Regions from separate parts of the Homo sapiens genome. Here region 2 is linked to region 1. The links are contacts of gene promoters, found by promoter capture Hi-C in blood cells and fetal thymus (Javierre and others, 2016). All regions are on one chromosome and are shown on one strand. Each heading gives the region's core, a stretch centred on a gene start or on the middle of the fragment in contact. The rest is flanking DNA. Distances are from core to core; before and after follow the strand shown. Region 1 holds the start of RERE (arginine-glutamic acid dipeptide repeats). Region 2 overlaps ERRFI1 (ERBB receptor feedback inhibitor 1).

Region 1 (7,873 bases), core at 3,516-6,015:
AGTAGAGATGGGGTTTCACCATGTTGGTCAGGCTGGTCTCAGACTCCTGACCTCAGGTGATCTGCCCACCTCGGCCTCCCAAAGTGCTGGGATTACAGGCATGAGCCACTGTGCCCGGCCAGAATTGGAAATCTTAATTGCTAATCCACAATAAATCACAGCCAAACAAAGGAAAAGGGTTTCTGATATTTGATCCTTTGTTTTGAAAAGCTGTTTCACCTCTCTCTGTATTTGCTCACACATGTGCTCTGAAACATCAACCATTTCTCCGTTCCAATTCAGTGCAGGGACTTTCAAAGGCTACCAGGGGTTACTTACCTGGCCCAAGGGGAAAAAACTGGAGAGGGAGAAATTTCGATTTACAATAAATTATAAAGTGAAAACCCGCTGTGGGTAAATGCAAGGTGAGCTCGGAGAACTGGCAGTGGGGAAGAAAGAAGTGCTGCTGGAGGCTCAACCTGAAAAAGTGCAACGGGAGATATAGCTGAGGCTCGTTATTGGCTTATATTTGCACTACATAAACTTGGAAGCCAATTTCATAGAAAATGCCTAGAAACAAGCTTCAGTCTGCTACAAGGCCTGCTAAAGCACCCTAGTTCTGCTTAAGGCATTTTAGGGGAAAATAATTTACATGTTCTAAAGCTTGAGTACTGCTGGTGAATTATGAAGACTAGTTACCAGCTGTATGTTCAAAGAACTTGAATGGTTTTTTTTAATTATAAGAATTATCCATGCTTGATATGAAAAGAAAAAAGTCCTTGTCTCTAAAAAAAATTAAAATAAATGATTAAAAAAGTGAAACCACTAAACCACAATTTCTTAGGTTGAGTTTACTGGTGTTTATTTTATTATTATCCCCCTCAACCTATGTACACATAATGTATATTCTTTTGTCTATGCCAAATTTTTATGATTTTAAAAAATGAAATCAAAAGTATTAGAAGAACACTAAAACTTTTTCAAATCATGGATTGAAGAAGCTCTTTCTAACATGGCAGGAAATCCAGACGCCATAAAGGAAAAAACACCAATAAATTTTACTGCATAAATATTTCACATCCCTATAAGGCATAAAAACACCATAGCAATGCAAGAAACAGGCAGACTGGGGAGAAACATTTTCAACACGTATAAGCAAGGGCTAACTTCCTTTTTTTTTTTCCTTTGAGACAGGGTCTCACTCTTGTCACCAGGTTGGAATGCAGTGGCATGATCACAGCTCACTGCAGCCTCAACCTCCCAGGCTGAAGCCATCCTCCCACCTCAGCTTCCCAAATAGCCTGGACTACAGGCATGTGCCATCACACTCAGCTAATTTTTAAAATTTTTTTGTAGAGATGGGGGTCTCATTATGTTGCTCAGAGTAGTCTCAAATTCCTGGGCTCCAAAAAAAAAAAATTTCAATTAAAAAAATAAAGAAATCCACCTGTGATTTTGGGGGTGGGGTGTGTTAGGAGTAATATGAATCTAGTGGGTGTGTGTTGTTGTTTTTTGTTTCCCCATATAGCTATCTTGTTGTCCCAATATCATTTATTAAATAATCCCCATTTTCCATCTTCCTTTAATACAGCTCTGATGTGATCTCTGTATATTTAAAAAAAAATCACTTCTTACCTGTAGTAAGATACATAAAATAACTAAAAAAAGTCCTTGATATTTTCAGATTCAATAACTACTTTATTTACTTAATTCCCACTTAAAAATATTGCTGAAAAGAGAATAAGGAAACTTTTAAAAATTTAATATGGGAAAAAAATCCAAGTCGGTATTTTACGTCTTTAATCTTCAGCTAGTTCTTTAACTTCCGTAAGCCCCAGTTCCTTGACTTTTAAAATGGAGATAATAAGCCGGGAGCAGTGGCTCACGCCTGTAATCCCAGCATTTTGGGAGGCTGAGGCGGGCGGATCATCTGAGGTTGGGAGTTCGAGACCAGCCTGACCAACATGGAAAAACCCTGTCTCTACTAAAAATACAAAATTAGCTGGGCATGGTGGCACATGCCTGTAATCCCAGCTGCTCAGGAGGCTGAGGCAGGAAAATCGCTTAAACCCGGGGGTCAGAGGTTGCGGTGATCTGAGATCGCGCCATTGCACTCCAGCCTGGGCAACAAGATCGAAACTGTCTCAAAAAAAAAAAAAAAAAAAAAAAGAGATAATAATAATACACTTCATGGGGAGAAAAAGTGGGCTAAAGAATGTAACATGTTTCTTAGGGCACTGGGAACATAAGCTTTCAATCAATAGTTTAATAGTTGTTCTTAACGATGAAGATTATTTTACTGCATTATCAGCTTCTCAGATCCTTGGAAGGAGGTCCAGTACTCTCCGGCTTTATGGCTGGACCACAATTCTTTCGTGGGACTGTTACAGTTAAATGGGTTTAGTTTGCTAATTTTGTGGTCTGATACCATATATTATGCTTTGTAACTATGTGGCATTTCTGGACTTCTAAATTTACATTTTTATGGATAAATGAAAGTGACGGCCAATCCCTAATACCATAGTAAATGTTATTTCCTAACGTGGAGAGCCTCTCTCCTCCCTGCTGGATGGCAGTGCATTGTCCATTTGTCTACCACAGAGCTGAATCTTTATTAGAAATAATGCTCCTGTAAGTTTCGAGACCAGCCTGGGCAACATAGTGAACCTCCATCTCTACTAAAATTACAAAAGTTAGTTGGGTGTGGCGGCACACACCTGTAATTTCAGCTACTCAGGAGGCTGAGGCAGGAGAATCGCTTCAACCGAGGAGGTGGAGGTTGCAGTGAGCTGAGATCGTGCCACTGCACTCCAGCCTGGGCAACAGAGCGAGACTCTGTCTCAAAAAAAAAAAAAAGAAAAAAAAGAAAGAATGCTCCTGTAGATAGAGATTTTGATGGAAAGTGAAGCCATCTAACTGATATACTTTATCCCTCATCATTTCCAAACAGGAAGTCAGATAGTCCTATCCATATCTAGAATGTTGGAAGCAGTTTATTGAATTTATTAGGTTTTAAAATTCAGTTCTCACATTATCAGATATATAAAGAGATATTAACTAGTTTCCCCATTTCATAACTCCAGCAAAGAGGATTTTTCTTGCTGAAAGTTACTCAGAAATGTGATGGCAAGGATCTATGGCTTTTTTTTTTTTTTTTAAGATCTCTTGGGTCATGGTCCAATAGTATCTGTTAGTCCAAATTATTCTTTAAAGAATAATTGAATGTGGGCCGGGTGCGGTGGCTCACGCCTGTAATTCCAGCACTTTGGGAGGCTGAGGCGGGCGGATCACCTGAGGTCAGGAGTTCGAGACCAGCCTGACCAACATGGAGAAACCCCATCTCTACTAAAAATACAAAATTAGCTGGGTGTGGTGGCGCATGCCTGTAATCTCAGCTACTCGGGAAGCTGAGGCAGGAGAATCGCTTGAACTGAGGAGGCGGAGGTGGCGGTGAGCCGAGATCGCGCCATTGCACTCCAGCCTGGGCAACAAGAGTGAAACTCCCTCTCAGAAAAAAAAAAAAAATGAATAATTCAATGTGGAAATTATAATCTGAATAGATTTTCCAAGGAGAAAATTATCACTTCTTTTGAAACAGATGAGTGAATTATTTTGTGCTACGTTTTCTACCCCTTATTTTATACGGACCTTAACTCCTTCGGGAAGAGTGTATGGTATAAGGACACCAATAAGCATTTACAGAATATTAACAAACCAACAATAGGTTGATGATTCACCCTGGATTCGTGCCAGGCTCTGTGAAAGAACTCAATAAACATGATGTGCATTTCAAAAACTGCTAATCATAATTGAAATTTCCAAACCCCTCAATCCCATAAATTATATGAACTAGAATATGATCATTTGGCCTGCCCCTACTCCCTTTACAGCATGATAGACCCTGTGATTATCAGGCTTTCGGGAAGTGGGACACAATACTTCATTCTTCAAAGAAAAAGAGGTGATGTTTGGTCTTTTCCTCTTTTTAGATTTTTTTTCACACGTACCTTATAGAGTTGTACACTGCTCTTTCTAAAATCCCTTCTGTACCTGTACAGTCTCTCCTTTATGCCTTCATGACACTTTTTATTCTTTTCAAATAAGCAGTGCGACTTATCACTTTTATTTTTCTTTCTGTAATTCATCTTTTGTCATGTACACTATTTGAAAAATATTACAAGCCGCTCATCAGAATTTCGAAAGAGTCCATATGAGAATGGTTTACACCCACTCTGTAGCCCGCAGCAACATGGATCCGCGTCCTAATGACTGAAAAGGCCAATTAAGACCCGGGTAACAGCAAGATCAACCGGACTTCCCCCCACCCCACCCGGGACCTGCCCGCGCCGCCAGCCCGGCCCAGCCCGGGGGGCGCGGGGGGCGGTACTGGAGCGCGGCGGGCGGCGGAGGAGGGCCGGCCTCGCACTCTCACAAAGACGCGCCCGCGGCGGGAGCCCAGCCCACCGCCTCTGGCCGCCGCCTGCAGCGCGAGCCCTCGAGCCCCGGGCCGCGGCGTTGTCAAGGCTCGGCCTCTCTCCGCCTTCTTCTCTGCTCATTTTATTAAAAAGATTAAAAAAAAAAAAAAAAAAAAAAAAAAAAGGAAAAAGAGATCCCGCCTCCTCCGCCTCCCATTGGCCGGGCCCCCGGCCGCGTCACACCGCGCTGTACCAATGGAGGGGCGCGATACTGCGAGGTGGGCCGGGCCCGAGCGGGGAGTGGGCGGCGGGTCGGTGCAGCAGCTCCGCCGCGGCTCCGCCACCATCGCGGAGGTGCCGCTGTTCCCACAGACGCTCGCGAGCAACCCTCCGCGCTCCGGAGCCTCCTCAGCCTCCCGCACACCCCGAGACGCTCGCCCCGCTGGGCCTCGGTCCCCGCCTCCTCCCCCGTCCTTTTCCCCTCTCTCGCTCCCCACATTGTCTCTGCCTCATTTTCTCTCCTAGTTGAGGATTAAAAAAAAAAAAAAATCACCATCATCCTCAGGGAGCCCCCTCGCCCTCGGAAAACAAAACCAGACATGATCCTGGGCTCCTGCTTCTGAAAGATCTGCCCGACCGAGGAGGAGGGAGCCTAGGTTCAAGTCGCAGGAAAGGTCACGGCAGGGAAGCCCCCTCAGCCCCTCCGCGTCGCCTCCCCGCGGGCCGCCCCTCTCGGCCCTGCGCCCCGCGGCCCCGCAGCCTCCGCGCGGCCTCCCGCCCCATCCCCGCCACTTTCCCCGGAGCTGGGCCGCGAACACCTCACTATTGATGGTGTAGCGCTTTAGGGGAAGGTAAGTGTCCAACTTGCCCGCGCCGGGTCGTGTGCTTTCTTTTTTGGCCCCTCGTCCTGGTGGTCAGAGAGGGTCGGCCGTGAAAGCAGTCACTCGCCCGGGGGGAGGCAGGAAGAAAAGGCTGGGGTCGAAGCCGAAGTCGAGGGGAGTCGGGCGAGGGCAGGGCACTTCTTTGGTCCTGTCCGGGCCAGGTGACCGTTCCTGCGTGCCTTCTGACCCCTGCTCTCTCTTGGCCTCTTATTCATGCTCTTGTTCTACTTGTTTGAGGTTAAACTATTTCATGTGACTACATTATTGGCTGAAACTGGAAGGGAAGGAAGTCAAGGACTGAAACTGTAAATTTCTTGAATGTTTGTGGATTTCGGGGTGCTGGGGGGAGGACTTTATTATTAAAGTATCATTTTCTCATTGGGGGAAGATTTCCTCTTTGTGCTCCCAATCTCTAGTTCTCAGCTGTATGTGATTAGAAAATTATGAAACCCAAAGTCACTTGCAGCAGAATAGAATTCTTACTATCCTGTTTTAGTTCTGCTCTCTGAAGGAGGGTGGCTTCTATTTATTACTAATTTTTAAGATGATGGAAAGATTCGTAGTTTTACATACACGTGTGTATGTGTGTCTGCTAGGAGGGGGGAAAAGTGTTGCAGGCTTCCTTTGAAACTGGTTGCTTGAGAAGTTGTTGAAAGGAAAACAGAATGATTCATTGTTGAATTGTCATTTTCCTCTGTCTCTTTTCCAAGGTTTGCTTACAATTTTTCTGGATTACAGACTTCAAACATTGATTTAAGTAAAATGGGTCCTTGAGAAACTGGGTGCTTTAAATGTTTCAGTATCTGTTGCTTTTTTAAGGTACATTTAGAAAGTAGTTTTGTATGAATCGTGAAATAGCCTTCTTCACAGCGAATTTTTAAACGCAAAAAAAGATAACTAGTAAGAGGGTGAACTTGGTGAATTACAAAATAGACATTTTAATATAGCAGGAATTGATGCATCTAAGATTTGAAACAGTTTTCATAATTGCTTTCCATTTAAAGAGAGACCTTTTTGTCTAGTGTACACTGGTCTTTTTAGTCTCAGTCTGTTGGGGGAGGGGAGAGAAGCTGGATCTGTACAATAATAAAATCATCTTTGGGTTGATATTTTGTTCCATGGATTTGCTTGCTGAGTTAATACTACTGTAAATTATCAACCAGTTTTGATTTTGATGGCCTGGGATGGGTGGAAAGCTGGCTTCCAGCTCTCCCTGTTGTTGTTGAGGTCGAAGGGAAAAGAGGCAGAGGCAGACAGACACACATATACACACACACACACACACATACACACACACACAATACCAAGCTGAGGGCTCATTGTTCTTCCATACACACATTCATTCTCTCTCTCCCATATTTGGGACTAGGTTTGCACAGACAAACACAGCTCTTTTTGGGAGAGAAGAGAGAAGATGGGGGAAGGGAGGGTGCTTTTCTGTTACAGCTTTCTTCCACCCATCTCATGCCTGGCCGTTTTTGCAACCTTGTGAGGCAGAAGAGTGCATTGGAAACTAAAGGACACTCAAAAACATGTTCAGAGACTTCTCTTCTCTCTGCCTCCCTTTATTCCTTTTGCAGCCGTGGTTTCTGCTGCTCTTTCTTTTTTGTATATGTAAAGATAAAATCCCTCTTTATATGTTGTGGCCTTACGTTCAGCTCTCATTGCTTTTGTATTTCTCATTGACCCTGATTTTGTTGGGGACAGTGATTTGTTCACTTGAGTCTTAGTAGTGAATGTGAGCAGAGTCTTTCTAGATAGAAATAGATTTTATTGATTAATATTATAAAGGTTGTATTGAGGTTAATATTTAGCAAGATGATGTTTGCATGTTTTTAGTGGTGTGATGGTTTGATGGTCAGGTTTGCTGGCAATTGAGCTGTCAATGTTGTTTTTGTAAATAAGGGTTATAAGAAAAGATCTGGTTTTCTGTTTAGGGGGCTCCTTTGAATACTGGACAGGGAATAGGCTAGTCCACCTGGGATAAACCCAGCTGTGGCCCAAGGATGGAGGTTGGTGTGAATACATGTGGGTTGCAGAATAGCACCTTCTACTGGTTAATTGTTTGGAAAGATCCAGACGAAGAGGATGGGGGAGGGGATTAATGGCTGAGGCTTAATGATTTTCTTTTAAGCGCAGTTGTTGTGCCTTTCTGCAAATGCCACTTCCCCGAGCTGCTAATACAGATGTCCTTTGACAGGCACGGTTGCATTGAGGCATTATTATGTTACTGGTTGTGCTTCGACATTAATTTGTTCTGTTACCAGAAGTATTTACACTTTGTGACTTCCCAGGACTCCTTTGAATGATACCTTCTCATCTTTTATGAGATAATTTCTCTTGAAATATTAAACCAGAGGGTTTATTTCTGTTCCCAGTATTGGAAACTATATACACCAGCAGTCTTTTAAAAAAGTTTTTAGTATCATTAATAAAAAATCAAATAAACCTACTCTATGGAAAGTAAAATTGTAGCACTGGACAGAGGTTTTTCTTGGGATTTAAACCAGGTAGAGGGGTAGAGGAGGAGTTGAAGGAGGGAAATCTCACTAAAATCGGCAATTTTGCAAATGTAGTGGCCTTGCATTGCAGTAGTGT
Region 2 (7,873 bases), core at 4,023-6,522, 800 kb after region 1:
CGTCTTCGGGCCTGGGGGCTTGTTTGATTTTTTTTTTATTTGTAAAAAGGGGGTTGCGTTGTCTTGTTCACACCGTGTACCCGTAAATCCTGTCTTGAAAGCTGGGGTGGGAGGCTCGGCGATTGCTTGCGGTGGTTGGTACCGGTTCTCTGGCGGTCAGCCCCGCTCCCTCTGCCTAATCTCACAGCGACGATGGTAATGCCGAAATCAGTATTTAAAAATTCGTCTAAGCTGTTCTGAACTCTTCCTTCTCTCCTAGAAACGTGATTCTTTGCTCTGAGTGTCTTAAGTACGGCTTTGAATGGAATCGGACTGCAAAATTATGTGTTCAAGACGTGAATGCTTATTGGGAATTTTGTGTGTGTATTTATATGTATATCATAGCCCTGTACAAATTAGATGACTCTTTAACCGTGAATGGTGCTGTATTAGTGCTTGCTAAGTCTTTATTAGGATTTCATCATTGCTTGAAAGAAACCAGTCTCTTACCTGATAAAAATATGAATAGATGGTTAGTCATAAACTTAAGTCAGAATGGAGACTGTAGCTTTAAAAGAGATGTGTCGGTGACTTGAGGTACACCTGCAACACAGGTAGGGCAAGACTGGTTTCTAGGCAACTGTCAGGGGTGAAGAAAGGTGAGGTTAAAATGCCCTTTTTTTCCCTTCCAGAACAAATGTTCAACCTTTTATAAATGTGTAAGAATGCAGTGGGTACACACATTTGTTGAGACTGAACATCCCAAGTTCACCGTACCTATTTTTTTAACTGCATTTCTTTTCTTATATTTCTGTAATTACAATATACAGTTTTAAGTGAAATTTTATTTGAACAGAGACCAAAGACAGGCTAGGTATCAGCAAATGATCAAATTTTGCAAAGACCAAAATAAAAGAAGCTGGTTTCTTGCTAACATGCTGGCTATAATTGGTTACCAATATGTTATCAAGCAAGTTCTTTTCCAGATATTAGCAAGTTTGAAGAAAAATAACAAAGGATTTAGCATGGACTTCAGAAACTATTTGTCATTCCCTTTGCTTCAAGCAGAAGTTTATTTTCACCTGTGTGTTCCAGGGGACACTCGATAATAAGTGATAGAGGTCTTAGACTAACGATTTATAACCTGACAGATATATTAGATTGTAAACTCCTTAAGGGTAGGCACTCTGCCTTGTATAGCTTCTATCTTATGCAGCCTTGCACATAGTTGATGTTGATAAATAATTGCATGAAAGCATGTTTTACCTTTTAAGGCTCAGCAGGATTGGAGCAGTCATTGATAAGGGTTGGAAAGCAAATCTGTTTAATTTTTTTATGGCTGTTATGAAATGCCTGAATTATTGATATTTTTGACGGGTAAAACTGTTGTTTCAATCATCGGTTTTCCTACTTGCAGTTCACAATATATACTGGTCACTCTTTATAAGATTTAATTATGCTTGAGTTTTTGTGTGAAAATACCTCTTGACTGCTGCTTCTCAAAAGTTGAGCTAGATAATACTTCCTTTCTGCTGAAACTAATGGTGGCTTTTCAAAGCAATTTGCGTAAATTACAGGCACAATCTAACATGCTTGAAACTGACCTGATTGTCTGCATACCATCAGATTGCTTTAGAAAGGAGCAGAGGAAGGAAAGGAGGTGTCAGGGGTAACTCCAGGAATTGGAATGGCATAGGCTCCCTCTGCCAGAGAAACAACTCTGCTCTTGATCTAAATAAATTTGAATTGGTACCTCATCATCTGGATCCATTTGGATACATTTAGCATCCTTTGCGGGTGTCTGGCTATACAAAAGCTAATAAAGAACTCGCTACATAAACGCAGTCCAGTTGTGGTATTCTGGCATTGTTCACACAGCATAAACACGTGCTTTGTAAAGGTAGATGAGGCGAATGAGTTTGAGGGTCCTAAATGTAAGTTACTACCTTAACAATTAGTTTTAAGATAGGGAAAAGTTACTGAGGGGGGTTCAGATTTCAGAAGGTGGTGGGGAGGATTCTCAGATTTCAAGTCTTTGTTGATACTGTAGTCCAATTCCTCACACCATAAAATTGGGCAATATTACGAAAAGACCACTCTTCCAGGTCTCAATGAATGTGTCTTTAAAATGTGGGGCTTTTGGCCGGGCTCAGTGGCTCAGGCCTGTAATCTCAGCACTTTGGGAGGCCAAGGCGGGCAGATGGCTTGAGCCCAAGAGTATGAGACCAACCTGGGCAACATGGTGAAACCCTGTCACTACAAAAAAACACAAAAATTAGCTGGGTATGGTGGCACACGTCTGTAGTCCCAGCTACTCAGGAGGCTGAGGTGGGAGGATTGCTTGAGCCTGGGAGGCAGAGGTTGCAGTAAGCCAAGATCACACGACTGCACTACAGCCTGGTGACAGAGTGAGACTCTGTCTTTAAAAAATAAACAAACAAAAAAATGTGGGGCTTTGGCTACAGAAATGGAGCCCTTTTCAACTTGGAAACAATAGGAAGGTAAGGATTGGAAGACATTATCCAAAAGCTCTTATTCAATACCCCAGATGTGAAACTGGACTAGTTACAGATTGTTTTTTAAACAACTATTCGCTCAGTAGAATTGTCTTCTGACTCTTATCAGGGCTGCCTCTTTTTCAGCCTTTAGATTTCCATTTAAAAGTCACCTACTCAGAGAGGCCTTCCCAAACCACCTGTGTAAATATATGCTCCTCTGCCTCCTTATCCTATTGCTGCTGTACCCTGCTTGTTTCCTTGGAAGGTATCGCCATCTAAAATTGTTTGCTTGCTTGGCTATTCTCTTCCTCCCTCATTAGATGGAAGGCTTCTTCAGGCAGCAGCCATCTCTATTTTTCACCTCACATGGTGTCTAATCCAGAATAAGCACTTGATAAATATTTGTGAAAAGAATTAATCCTTGCCCTCTAAGAATTTTTGAGCTGAATGAGCACTATGAGTTGAGTTTCTGTTCCTGCCTCTGCTATTGACTAGCACTTAGGTCTTGAGCATTTAACTTAACAGCCTTTTGCTTCAGTTTCTCCATTTATAAACAAGAATGTTACAAGGAGAAATGAGGTTGTTGCCTAAAATGAAGATACTATAGAGTGGAGAGGTAGTGAAAGTGTGGGGAAAATGCTGGATTATAGTACAGAAGAGCCATGATCGCCCTTTTGCTTATAGCAAGATATTTAACCTCACTTTGTTTCCTCATCTGCAAAATGGAGATTCTAATCCCTGCCTCTTCTTACAGGGATGTTGTGGGGATCAAGTGAGATAATGTGTAAGAAGGTGCTTTGTAACTTGTTGAGTGCTTTACAAATATAAGGTATGCTATTGTTAAATTCCGGATTTTACAATACAGTGTGATTATAATGCCATCATTGGGATCCATGCTGTGAAAGCATGTTAAAAGGAGGCCCGTTGGGTATATGTAGTAACCGCTTATTACGAGTAAAAACAGACTTGTGTTATATGAAATAACCATGTTGTAAAGAGTTCTGTTGTGGTGGGGCATCCGTGGATCGTTAAAGACTGAGGGCTTCAAAATAGTTGTTTGAAGTGGTAATAGAATGTCAAATTGATGCCTTAACCCACCCATTTTAGAGGATACATAGGCCAGATCTACAATTAATAACTTTTAATAGGAGAATTTGAGGGAGTTGAAGTGAAACAGGAACTTTCATAGGCTACAGGTTACCCAAGAAAAACTATTACCAGTAAATCCATAAAAAAGGATCTGTGCTACCCTTACAAGTTGAGCAGTATAGTCAGTCGGATCCTACTTCGCCAGTTTAAAAAGCCGTAGGGACAGGAAGAGGCAGTGTGGTGTGTTGGTGAAGGGCCTGGACACTGAGGCCGGGCTGTCTAGTTGAAGTCCTGGCCCCATTGCTCACCAGTTTTGACCTTGAGCAAGTTCTTTAACTCTGTGCCTCAAGTAAGTGAGAGTAATAATAGTAGCCCACCTTATGGCATTGTAGAGAGGATTAAATGAGTTCATACACATAAAGCACTTAGAACCATGCTTGCCTGGCAGTTGTATGTCCAGTGAATGTTAGTTATCATTAATGGTTTTATATTAATTGTAACAATCTAGAGTTACCCATCGGGTAACTTAAATGCTTGTTAAATAAATTTGAAGTTTTAAAGACTTGCGTCCCATCATTAGACCATTGTGCTCGTTGTCTTTAGATTAGAATTCACTTTTATAGTAAGAAATAATCTATTGTTATATGTCAAAAAGAAATAATATTTTTCTCCCCTCTGTGTGTATATATAGTTACTGATTGTGCTACTCTGTAGGAGAAATACAAAGGACAAAAGAATGTATTCCTGCTATCCTACTTTTCTGCTGTCACACTAAAATTGTGTGGGAGGCTTAAGTGAGTTGAAAGACTGGATTATGGTAGTTGAGGGAATGGGTTTTTTGTTAGTTTACCATTTTTTAAAATACTTAGCTAGAAAGCATTCTGAATTATTGAATAAATTACGTCATTTATTTTTTATTTGACAGTTTGAAGATAAATTATTTTCTCTGTTGCCTCTATTTCACCACCTACAAATGGTCCATTATGTTCTGGACATGTTTAAGAGCCTCTGAGGAATGGAGCTGCAAACACAGACACAAATGTTCATCTTTGCCACACTGAACTATATTTTAATGTTTACTGAAGCCATCAAGCTTTTCTTGAATTCATGCAGGAGTATTTTAATTACATTAAAACATGGCATTATTTTAAAAGTAATCTATGTTTTTAATTTAAAGGCTACTTATGCTTACCATGGTAGAGAGTACAACTAAGGAAGTTTTCTTAACTTGCCTCCCTCTTTCTTTTCCTACCCCTACCTAAATCATAGGCTATTAAAATGAAATCTGGGCCGGGCGTGGTATCTCACGCCTGTAATCTCAGCACTTTGGGAGGCCGAGGCAGGAGGATCACCTGAGGTCAGGAGTTTGAGACCAGCCTGACCAATGTGGAGAAACCCCATCTCTACTAAAAATACAAAAATTAGCCTGGCGAGTTGGTGCATGCCTGTAATCCCAGCTACTCGGGAGGCTGAGGCAGGACAATCGCTTGAACCTGGGAGGTGGAGATTGTGCTGTGCACCATTGCACTCCAGCCTGGGTGACAAGAGTAAGACTCCGTCTCAAAAAAAAAAAAAAAAAATTGGTGTTTTTTTGTTTGTTTGTTTGTTTTAATTTCCTCACAGGTGATTATTTTAGACATTTTAAAAAATAAACATGCAGAGATTGGTATATTTGGGGAGGATCTAAAATCATGGAGTTTGTCATATTCCTAAATCAGTTTCCTTTTATAAATTTTGCCTTTAAATGTAGTTACCTTATTATCTTCCTTGGTTATGGAAGTACTTAATGTAGGTGATTCTTAAATGGAACTGAAAAGACCATTTATCACCCTGAATAAACAGAAATCAGGTTCTAGAACCAGATTGAAAGGAGGAAATTACATCACACTCTTAAATAAGGAAGCACTGGGCAGAACTGGATGAGTTGTATGACAAAAATGTGCCCCTCCTCCTCCCATGGATGGCTTCTGAGATTTATTAATGAGATCTGGTGGCCAGGTAAGCATATCTAGGTTACTGCCTTAAGGTAGCCTGCATTTTTCTTTTTTTTTTTTTTTTAAGCAGTTTCAAAGAGACTGTCCTCAAGCTAAAGGCATATGATTTCACCTTAATGAAGAAGGTGCAGTGTGCTTTTGGTGTAACTTTTTTAGAAAAATGAAAGTCACCTTAAATTCAGCAGCAAAAACACAGTCTAGAAGGAATAGTGTTTTAAGAGAAGGCAAAACACTGTTTTAAGAAAGTACCCCCCCAATTGCTTCAAGTAAATATACTGTAACAGAAACCAGTTTAGAAAGCTACACTGTTAACCACTGAAGCTTATAATTTTTACTCAGTCTACAAACTGTCTTCTTTGAATTCTGGAAATGAATTTCATAAAAATTCCTTCCTGTTACATATCCTAAGGTTGTTACATTATTATTGGGCAGTCGCCTCACTCCAGCACGCATTAACTTTATCCTTTATAAATCTGCTTCTCCCCTGAGCTCTTCACTGACTCACAGTGTATGTGAATCTTTCATGTCATTACTTTTTAAAAATGAGATGGATATTTTCTCAGTATCCATTTAATAAATAATAGACATGAATGATGCCAAGATCTACAGGGGGAAAGCATAAATCAGACATCAGTTCTGTCCTAGATGATTTGAAGAGTGGAAGGGGAATTGGGGCCCAGCACAAAATAACACAAGAACAGAGCACCGCTGCTCCAGTGTTTCATGAAAGGGAGCGGCTTCATGGAGAAGGCAGGGTAGAGCTGACCTTAAAGGATGAATCGAATTGTAACAGAGATTTGGGGAAAATAGAAGCGCGCTTGAAAATATAGATTAGGTTTATATTGTGGAGGCCCTAAATTGCCAGGCTGAGGAGGTTTTATTTAGGAGCCTTTGAAGGTTTTTTGAGCAGCAGCAAATCTTAGCTTGAGCTGTTGTTAAGGAATATTGACTTGGTACTAGTGTTGTAGAATAGGTTGCATATTGCCAGACCCCAGGAAGAATGATGCCTGTCAATGGAAGGGTAAGATTTGAGAAACCATGTAAAAGTAGTCTGTGGAACTTGGCAATTGAATGTACATGGCCTCAGGTTAAAAATGGTGCCTTGAGAAGTGTGATCCTCTTAGACCCTGAACTGGTTTGGGGAGTGGGGAATGGAGTATGAAGTGAAAGGAGGAGTTTGGTTTGTAGAGTTTGAGATGCCAGAGGGCCATCCAAGTGGAAAGATAATCACCAGACAATAGGAAATGCAAAGTTGAAGCTTGAGCCAGGCTGGAGTCATTGATTCAGGAGCTGTCTATGAGTTGAAGCTATACAAGTGGATTAATAAAAGGATAACCTCAAGAAGCAAATGATTTTAGGGCTTCTTTTTTCGTTGAATTTAGAAAAGAATCAAGTTAACAGGAAAAGGTGGTTCACATCTGAAATTTGGTATTTAACTGCATTTTAGACCCACTAAAAAAGCTAAAAATAGTTGATGAAGTTTGGAGAAGTTATGCTGAAGGTTATTTGGGTCCCCGTCTAAACCATGCTGTCTGGATTCACATTCGCTTTCCTATTCTTGGATTCCATAACATAATCCCATCTTGTACTTTTTAGATACTGATTTCCCCACATAGGTACATTTTTGCAATTGTTTTCCTCTAATGAGTTGTAAGACAGATAAAATGTGAAAAATTGGCATTAAACATCACTTGGGAAGAGTTTGTTTCTTTTTAGCTTGAGGTTGGTAAAATGGATTTATTTACTCCGCGCCCCCCCCCCCCCCGCCCCCCGCTTCCATTTGTGCTGAATACTAGAAGGTTTTTAGAGAGAGAGAAAGTTTCAGGTGGTTTCATACCCTCAGTTTACAATCTGAGAAACATTTTTTTTAAAAGCTTCCTTCCAAACCTATAGCACATTGCCCTTTTTGAGTCTACAGTTTGAAGTTATTTTCCAAAAGAAGAGAACATGGCAGTTATATTGCCCCCCTCGTCTCCCATGCTAGCAAGTAGGAAGTTCGGACAGTTTCATAACATGGCCCATTCACAATTCCCCATTGAAATTTAGAGGCAGGTCACCTTCTATGAATACACAAAGACACTATTGTGGTCAGAAGTGAGCTGGCTTAGTGAACACAATTCTTTTTATACTAAAAAAATTTTTTTCTTAAGAAAGCTAACAAGTAGGTGATGGAAACAATGAATAAAAAATAACTTTTTCTAGAACATATAAATAATTTTAAGTGACCATTGAAATGTAAGTTTAGAATTCCAAGGCAATTTCTGCAGAGGCGATAGTTACACAATCATTCTGTTGAAAGCTAAGATTTAGATG

The links. The method cuts DNA at HindIII sites, captures the fragments that hold promoters and counts their contacts. A CHiCAGO score of 5 or more calls a contact.
Region 2: a fragment that was not itself captured here is called in contact with the fragment with the promoter of RERE in region 1 in 2 of 17 cell types (total B cells and naive B cells); the score reaches 6.3 in total B cells.

Annotation. Positions count from the first base shown.
Region 1 is chr1:8,814,532-8,822,404 of GRCh38, reverse strand. It overlaps RERE (arginine-glutamic acid dipeptide repeats), which reads left to right and starts at 4,765. Exons shown (of 23, transcript NM_001042681.2): 1 at 4,765-5,245. RefSeq lists silencers at 242-465, 4,228-4,457, 4,558-4,857, 5,108-5,167 and an enhancer at 4,521-4,815. The HindIII fragment of the contact is 6,239 bases long and covers 2,232-7,873 here.
Region 2 is chr1:8,017,826-8,025,698 of GRCh38, reverse strand. All of the region lies in intron 1 of ERRFI1 (ERBB receptor feedback inhibitor 1), which reads left to right. Among named protein-coding and RNA genes, the nearest start is that of ERRFI1, 4.5 kb to the left of the region's middle. The HindIII fragment of the contact is 1,222 bases long and covers 4,662-5,883 here.